Regions from separate parts of the Homo sapiens genome. Here region 1 is linked to region 2. Evidence: promoter capture Hi-C in 16 types of primary human blood cells and fetal thymus (Javierre and others, 2016). All regions are on one chromosome and are shown on one strand. The core of a region is centred on a gene start or on the middle of the fragment in contact, and the rest is flanking DNA. Distances in the headings are between cores, read along the strand shown.

The links. The method cuts DNA at HindIII sites, captures the fragments that hold promoters and counts their contacts. A CHiCAGO score of 5 or more calls a contact.
Region 1: a contact is called between a fragment that was not itself captured here and the fragment with the promoter of KRTAP10-4 in region 2, in 1 of 17 cell types (total CD8 T cells). The highest score is 5.6, in total CD8 T cells.

Annotation. Positions count from the first base shown.
Region 1 is chr21:44,738,897-44,743,060 of GRCh38, reverse strand. No RefSeq gene overlaps it. Among named protein-coding and RNA genes, the nearest start is that of TSPEAR, 29 kb to the right of the region's middle. The HindIII fragment of the contact is 1,258 bases long and covers 1,887-3,144 here.
Region 2 is chr21:44,571,162-44,575,339 of GRCh38, reverse strand. KRTAP10-4 (keratin associated protein 10-4) reads right to left here and starts at 1,611. Exons shown (of 1, transcript NM_198687.2): 1 at 1-1,611. The coding sequence starts at 1,581. The coding sequence ends at 376. All of the region lies in intron 1 of TSPEAR (thrombospondin type laminin G domain and EAR repeats), which reads left to right. RefSeq lists enhancers at 360-878, 879-1,396. The HindIII fragment of the contact is 4,220 bases long and covers 1-2,127 here.

The DNA of each region.
Region 1 (4,164 bases), core at 1,266-3,765, 170 kb before region 2:
TGATTTTGGGAAGCCTGTCAAATATGTTAGAAGTTTAAAGAGTTGATGTTATGAAATAGAATTCCAGATTTCCATAAGTTATTTATTTCACCAAAATGATGACTCAGACATTTTTTTAAGAAGCAAAAACTTTTTATAACCCTTTACAAATTTTGCTAGATAGCAGATTAGTGTCTTAAGAGAACCCTTTTGGGCTTTTATTTCAATGCTCAATTTATGGAAAAGCCATAAACTAAAGTCACGTGAGCTAAAAGGTACCACAGCTTTTATCTTACCTTTAAAAAATATTTGATCCAAGTGCTTATCCTTCCTTAAGTCAATTAATTAGAGCTCTTTTTTAATAGACATCACACACACAACACATATATAACTACACAGGCAGAAGAAGATTCAGTAGCTATAATATTTTTCATAATTGGATTGTTGGCCTCTGGGTGGAGCCCTTTAAGAGCAAGACTAGGAAAACATGCAGTTTCCAGGCTCTCATAAGCAAATATAGCTGGGAGACAAAAACAGATTTTGAGAGGGATCCATCTGCCTCTAATTCCTGGGGCTCCATGAGGAAATCAGAGGTCTCTCATCTTTCATGTGTGCATTAAGAGTGGCAAGGCAAAATGGAGAAAAATAATTCAGTTGACTGAGAAAAAACCTCTTTCCAGCAAAACAAGATCCAAGAAGAGAAAAACAAAGGCCTTTTAAATATACCTGTAACTTGGATATCCACTTTTAATTAAGCTGAGTGCTCTTTAATAAAATCCTTTTAAATCTCATTACCCAGCTTTAGCCATGCCAAGCGGCCAATATTTCTGGCTTTCAAACTTTTCTGAAGGTTCAGAGAAAGGAAAATCCAAGGCAGTTTGTGGAGGGGAAGGGAATCAACAAATGGCAAAGGTCATGTAGATATCAAACCAGAAAGAACTCATTCCCTAAGCCAGGATTGGACCTGGGCCGCCATTGTAAAATGGTGAAGGCTAAACCAAAGCACTGCCATGTCGCTACAGGTCATGCTCCCAAGGACATAAAACAAGATGGAGGCCTGCAGCAAAGTTTGCTACTGACCATACAGAAAGACATGCAGAGCACACCAGATTGGCTGTAGCTTAAGACCAACTCACAAATCTTTCCTTCCTTCCTTCCTTCCTTCCTTCCTTCCTTCCTTCCTTCCTTCCTTCCTTTCTTTCTTTCTGTCTCTCCTCTCTCTCATCTTTCTCTCTCTTCTCTCTTTCCTTCTTTCTTTCCTTCCTTCTTTCCTTCCCTCCCTCCCTCCCTCCTCCTTCCTTCCTTCCTTCCTTCCTTCCTTTCTTTCTGTCTCTCCTCTCTCTCATCTTTCTCTCTCTTCTCTCTTTCCTTCTTTCTTTCCTTCCTTCTTTCCTTCCCTCCCTCCCTCCCCCTTCCTTCCTTCCTTCCTTCCTTCCTTCCTTCCTTCCCTCCTTCCTTCCTTCCTTCCTTCCTTCCTTCCTAGTTTTTTACTCTTGTTGCCCAGGCTGGAGTGCAGTGGCGCAATCTTAGCTCACTGCAACCTCTGCCTTCTGGGTTCAAGTGATTTTCCTACCTCAGCCTCCTGAGTAGCTGGGATTACAGGTGCGCACCACCATGCCCAGCTAATTTTTTGTATTTTTAGTAGAGACAGGATTTCATCATGTTGGCCAGGCTGGTCTTGAACTCCTGACCTTAGGTGATCCACCCACCTCGACCTCCCAAAGTGCAGGGATTACAGATGTGAGCCACTGCAGCTGGCCTACAAATCCTTTTTCATAATTAAAACTTTACAGAGAAAAACAGTGATAGCTAGGGTTCTGGCCTACTAAAGTGCTTTCTAAAAGGGGGAAAAAAACCCTCTCACTTAAAAGTTAACTCCTGACCTGGTGGAGAAAAGAAAAAAAGCTTAAAGTGCAGGGTTGGAAAGATGCCTTGGGAAAGAACCTCTTATTCTTATACAAATAGTTTCCTCCAACAGGGAGAGAAACTTACTGCTGTTTCTTCCCTAGGGCTTGAATGGAGCTGGACTCCTCAGTCATGGAATGAGGAGACACCATGGACATATGGTGGGGAATGCTGGCCAGCCTGCCACATGCAGCCTTTGAGCTATGCACCCCAGCCCCAGCTGGGAGGGGAGGCCAGGCGGGCGGGGAGTTGCCGCTTGCCCATCTGTCCCAAACAATGAAGGAAAATGCCATAGAAAGTCTGGGTCGGACCGAGGCCGACATTCTTGACCCCTGGGAGTGGCAAGGGTGGGGGCCTGTTTCCTTTACCTTCAGAAGAAGTCTGAGGACAAATAGGCTCAAAAACAAAAGGGAAAAAGATGTTTTGGTCCGCATTTACTCACCTTTGCTCGTGTCCCTGTATGGGCCACCAAAATGATGCAGGATTTTTACTCCTTAGCTCAGCTAAAACCTGGGTTCTTGTCCCATTACCAGGAAAAAATTAGGCACGTGGACATGTTGAAAGGTGAGATTTATTAAAAGAAAGCTCTTGGCAAAAATAAAATGAGGTCCTGCCAACAGGGTCGCACCTCACAGATTGAATTCCAGGCCACCACATACAAGCCGAAGAGGCCAGGCTCCTCCCCGCTGCACAAGGCATGCACTTCCCATGCCTCCACCCCATTCTCCCAGTGCACAGGGGGGCCCCCAGTCCGTTGCAAGCATGTGCAGACAAGACTCTGGGCAGGTTCCCTCATCTACACAAAAGTATCTGATATAAACACTTGTGGGGTGGGCTGGAGATTCTGTGGGGACCCTCACTTACCTGCCTCCTGCATCTGTCATCATTTTGTGATAGAATGAAACTGAGCCCTGCAGAAATTAAAAAGCAAAGAGATAATAATGTCTTGGCCATTAATAAGTCTGGAGCTTAGGATGAGTATTTTGAAAACTGTGCTAAATGTCTTATTTAAGCTAGAATTGGCATTGTGTTGTTGTTCATGTGATCTAAGTCAAGTCAGGACTGATAGGACCGAATGGACAAGTGGAAACATAGCAGCTGGGCAGCAAGAAGAAAGACTTGTGTCCAAATGCAAAGTGACTCTGGATTTATAGTATGCACTACAGTCTACTGCTGTGTAACAAACTGTCCCCAAACAGTAGCTTAAAACAGCCAAATGTATTATGCCACACAGTTTCTAGGAGTCAGGGACTAGAAGCTTAGTTGGTGGTTCTTGTTCAGAACATCTTATGAGGTTGCAGTTAGATGTTGGCTGGGGATGCATCATCTGCAGTGTTTAAAAGGAGTGTCACTTTTAAGAAAGCTTCCTCACAGGGCTGGCAGTCAGTTTGTGCTTTAGTTCTGTACCATATGGCCTGTCCAGCAGGATAGCCTGGACTTTTTTACATGGCAGCTGGGCTCTGAGAGATGGGGGAGAGGAAGAAAGAGAGGGAGAGGGAGTTCTGATGTGTGTCCTTTTCCTTAAAGATTTATTACTGGTCCATCAGAAGGAAATGTGAAACTTCCCACTTCCTCCTCCTTGAGATGCTACAAATATACAACTGACCTTGGGGCTGAGGTGCAGGGGCAGAAGTGGAGCTCTCATGGCCCAGAACAGAGAGGATGCAGAGCGGCATTTCACAGCATGCTGTTTGGGTAACATGATACCCTAGGTCTAGGAGCAATAGATGCATAAATGGATGGCTGGGCAGGTGGATGGACAGAGGGAGGGACACTGAAGCTTGTCCCAGGTGTCTCCTACATGGACTTGGGATCTACACTGCCATCTTTGCTTTCTTCCTACATTGTCATTGCTTGAACAGGACTGCCCCAGGAGAAATGTGTTTTTTGGCAAGTGCAGGGGCTAGAAAAGGAGCAGTTAAGGATAACAGCCACTGTACCCACTCTACCTTCAGAGCACCCTATTGCGGCCTCAACATCCCTTTTTTAATGCCAACTTTTCACTTTACATTTCAAGAAAATAATATGTCTCTTAAAGCTCTTGGGCCTGGATCCTCTGAGGACTGCATGCCCTTGAGAGAGTGGGGCTAGCCCCTGGTTGAAGACCTTTTTTCTAAGGTTGCTATCGATTCACTCCCCTTGCATCTCTTAAGTCTGGTATAGTTGTCCCTCCTTTCTTGCTCCTCTCTCACTGGGATTATTGCCACTGCCTCTGTGGGGATGTATATGGTTTTGGCCTGTCCAGCACCCACTCATCTTTCCCCTGCTAACAGCTGCCTG
Region 2 (4,178 bases), core at 362-2,861:
GTCAGCTTGAGGGCGTCCAAAGAAGGCTCTGCGGCTCTGAGCCAGGAGGACAGAGACCTCACGGGTCAAGGCTGAACTGACCCTCATGAGAGGTGGGAGATATGGAGGGGAGGCCACTGCCATGGGAACTTTCTAGAAGCGCCCCCCTCCCCCCGCAAGAGGGCTGCAGCATTGAGTATAGACTTTCAGTTCTTCCATTGTCCAGCTCAACAGCAGACACCAGGAAATGGTCAAAGTGCAGGAGCAATTCAGGACGCGACTATCAGCTTTCAGGTGGGACCTGAGCCTGGCTGGCACTGGGGGGCGTGTCCATCAGCAGCTGGGCTTCTGACCTGAGCGGAGGCCTCAGCAGGCTGGGCGGGAGCACACGGGGCGTCAGAGGAGGGACACGCAGGAGGCTGGGCGGCAGCAGCTGGGTTGGCAGGAGGAGGTGGGAGCACAGCAGGAAGGGACGGGCACGCAGCAGGCGGGCCTGCACACGGGGCGGCAGAGGAGGGACACGGAGGAGGAGGGTCTGCAGCAGGAGGTGGTGCAGCAAGCTGGCTGGCAGCTAGATTGCTGGCAGCATGAAGAGGAAGCCCCAGAGCAAACAGGCACACAGCTCACAGGCTTGCAGCAGACGGGCACGCAGCAGCCCTGCTGGCTTTGGGAGGAGGTGCAGCAAGCTGGCTGGCAGCTAGACTGCTGGCAGCACAGAGAGGAAGCCCCAGAGCAGATGGGCACAGAGCAGACAGGCTTGCAGCACACAGGCTTGCAGCAGACAGGCACACAGCAAGCCTGCTGGCAGGGAGAGGAGGTGCAGCAAGCCGGCTGGCAGCTAGACTGCTGGCAGCATGAAGAGGAATCCTCAGAGCACACAGGCTTGCAGCAGACAGTCTTGCAGCAGACGGGCACGCAGCAGGCCTGCTGGCAGGAGGAGGAGGTGCAGCAAGCCGGCTGGCAGCTAGACTGCTGGCAGCACGAGGGCGTGCAGGAGCTGATGCAGCCTGATTGGCAGGGGCTGGGCTCACAGACCGCCTGGCAGCAGGGGCTGGACACACAGCTCACACAGCTAGACTGCTGGCAGCACGAAGAGGAAATCCCAGAGCAGACAGGCTTGCAGCAGATGGGCACACAGCAGGCCTGCTGGCAGGGGGAGGAGGTGCAGCAAGCTGACTGGCAGCTAGACTGCTGGCAGCATGAAGAATCCCCACAGCAGACGGGCACACAGCACACAGGCTTGCAGCAGACAGTCTTGCAGCAGACGGGCACGCAGCAGGCCTGCTGGCAGGGGGAGGAGGCACAGCAAGCCAGCTGGCAGCTAGACTGCTGGCAGCACGAGGGCGTGCAGGAGCTGGTGCAGCCTGATTGGCAGGGGCTGGGCTCACAGGTCACTGGGCAGCAGGGGCTGGACACACGGCTCACTGGGGTGCAGACCAGGCTCAGGCAGGGGGCCGGGGCGCAGCAGCTGGGGGCGCAGCAGGGGGGCTCGCAGCAGCTCTCTGGGCAGTCGTCCACCTGCCAGGAGTCGGAGCAAGAGTCACAGGAACCAGGAAGGCAGACGCGGCTGCTGTAGCTCAGGTCGCTGGAGCAGACGGACATGGTGGATGCTGCTGTGCTGGGGGTTGAGCTGGGGGAGATGGGAGGGAGTGGGTGAGCGAGTGAGTGAGGTGCTCGGGTTTGTGGGGCTTTTATACTCCTCCTTGGTGCATGTTGTCCAGACAGGAGGCTCAGCAAGCCCTCCCTTCCTTGTTGGGGTGTACAGCCAGCTCCAGGAGAATAAACAGTAGCTGTGTTTTTGTTTCCCAAGAGCTGTTGCTCAGTTTACAAAACTTGGAATTGGCCTGGGGCGCATGTGCGTGTTTTAGACTCAGGAGGAAGAGCTGAGGGGCAGTTCAGGCTGTGCTGCTTTGCTCCCCAGGCGCACGTGGAGGGTGGCATGGTCCACGTGTGTGCCGGGCTATGGGGAGTGGGTGCCTGCGGGTGGCTCTGCCGTGTGTGTGCTGGACTATGAGGAGTGGGTGCCTGTGGGTGGCTCTGCCGTGTGTGTGTGCCAGGCTATGGGGAGTGGGTGCCTACGGGTGGCTCCGCTGGGCCTTGGTTTTCTAGGCTGCTGAACAAGATCATGTGCCTCTGTGATTGAAAGCTTAGGGAGAGAGGTTTGTTTGGGTTCTAAGTAAAGATAATGTGAGTCATGGTTTGTATGCTGTAATGTATTCTTTTCCTTGGGCTGCCATGACAAACAGTACCACAAACTGGCTGGTCACACAACAGAAATTCCGTGTCTCATGGTTTTGGAAGCCAGAAGTCTGAGATCGAGGTGTGGACAGTGGACAGCATGGGTTCCTTCTGAGGCTGCGAGGGGCACTGTCTCACCCCGCTCCCCTCACTCCTGTGGGCTGCTGCTATCTTTGGGGTCCTTGGCTTACAGTGGCCTCACCTGAGCTCTGCCTTTATCTTCACACAGCTTCTCCGTGTGTGTGTGTGTGTGTGTGTGTGTGTGTGTGTGTGTGTGTGTGTGTGTGTCCAAATCTCCCCTTTTTATAAGGATACAAAGCATTATTGCAGTAGGGCCTATCCTAACAGCCTCCTCTTAACTTGATCACCTACAAAGACCCTATTTCCATATAGGGTCACATTCACATGTACCAGCGGTCAGGACTTCGGCACCTTTTGAGGGACACAATTCAATCCACAGCAAGCAGACACAATGGCAGAACCTGGGATGAGGACGTGGGCACGGGAGCAGAACCCGGGATGGGAAGGCAAGCACGGCAGAAGTGTTTCTTGTGGACTTGGGCCTGGGGCAGGTGGAGCATGGGGGGTGGCGAGGGTAGCACAGGACAGCAGGTGCCCAGCACTGGGCACTCAGCAGCCTTTGCTTGTGAGGTGTGGCTTGACCTCGTGGAATGGTTTTAGGGAATAGTGGCTGAAAAGCGGGGTTCACATCGCCCTTTGCCAGCTTCCCGACACCACCGCAGGTTGGTTCCCAGCTCTGAGAAAGCAGCGCTGCTCTGTTTCTTCTCAGCCAGGACGGTCTTTAGGCAGCTGCACCAACTTCCGGTGGGTCCTGCTCAGGACCCCACATGGCGTTGGCTGAAAGGTCTCCTCGACTTCTCTGGTTTGTGACGGTTGCCCAATCTCTCCTTGGCCTCAGCGACCTTGACCGGTTGGGTGTTTTGTAGAATGCCCCTCCACGTGGACTTGCTTGAGGTTTCCTCGTGGTCAGAGTGGGCATCGCGTTGGGGGAGGAATCCCACAGGAGCAGTGTGCGTGGGGCATGGAGGTGACACGGCCGCGGCCCATCCCTCGCGGTGCCGCCGTTTCCCTCTGTAATTGGTCATGTCTGAGACTTGGCAGCTGTCCTGCGTCTGCCCAGGCGTTTGCCCGGCAGTGCTGGTGCCCCTCCGGGGGCCTCGCCCGCACGGTCCCTGTGGGGCTCTGTTGAGGATTCTCCTCCCTGCCTTGTTCCTTCCACACTTACTAATTGAAATTCTCCCGGGAGGAGGAGCTGTCCCGCTCTTCTGTGTGTCTATTTGCTTCCTTATTTATTTATCTATGTGTGGACTAAAGAATGTTTATCTATTACTTGAGCTATAATCCAATATGATCACTATGTATTTTGTGGTTGCAGTGGTTCCAACTTCGGCCCTCAAGTCCTTTCGTTTTGGCCCTGGTGCCCTTTCAACACGCTGTCCCTCCCTGACCTTTCTTACTTTTGGGTCCAAGTTCATCTCAGATTTGCCCTGTTTCATCCCTGGAATCAGACGCTTCTCTAGGAAGCCCTGCTTCCTCTTGGTGGACGAAGGCATTTAGAAACCAAAATCTGGAGCAAGGTGTGCTCACACTACTGGGGTGTTGCTTTCCCAGCCCTCCCAGGAGACAGAGCAAGGAGGCTGGCATGTGCATTAACACCCACCTGATCTTAGAGGGAGGGGTTTCCCCACTAAGAATCGTGTTGGTGCTGGTTTTTCCAGACTAGTGTTATCTGGTCTGAAATGTTCCCCTCTAGGCTGGATGTGGTGGCTCATGCCTGTAATTCCAGCACTTTGGGAGGCCAAGGCAGGAGGATTATTTAAGGCCAGGAGTTTGAGATCAGCCTGGGCAACATAGCCAGACCCCATCTCTACAACGTATTGTCCTTTTTACATGTTGCTGGATTGTATTTGCTAATATTTTATTGAGGATTTTGGTTGGTC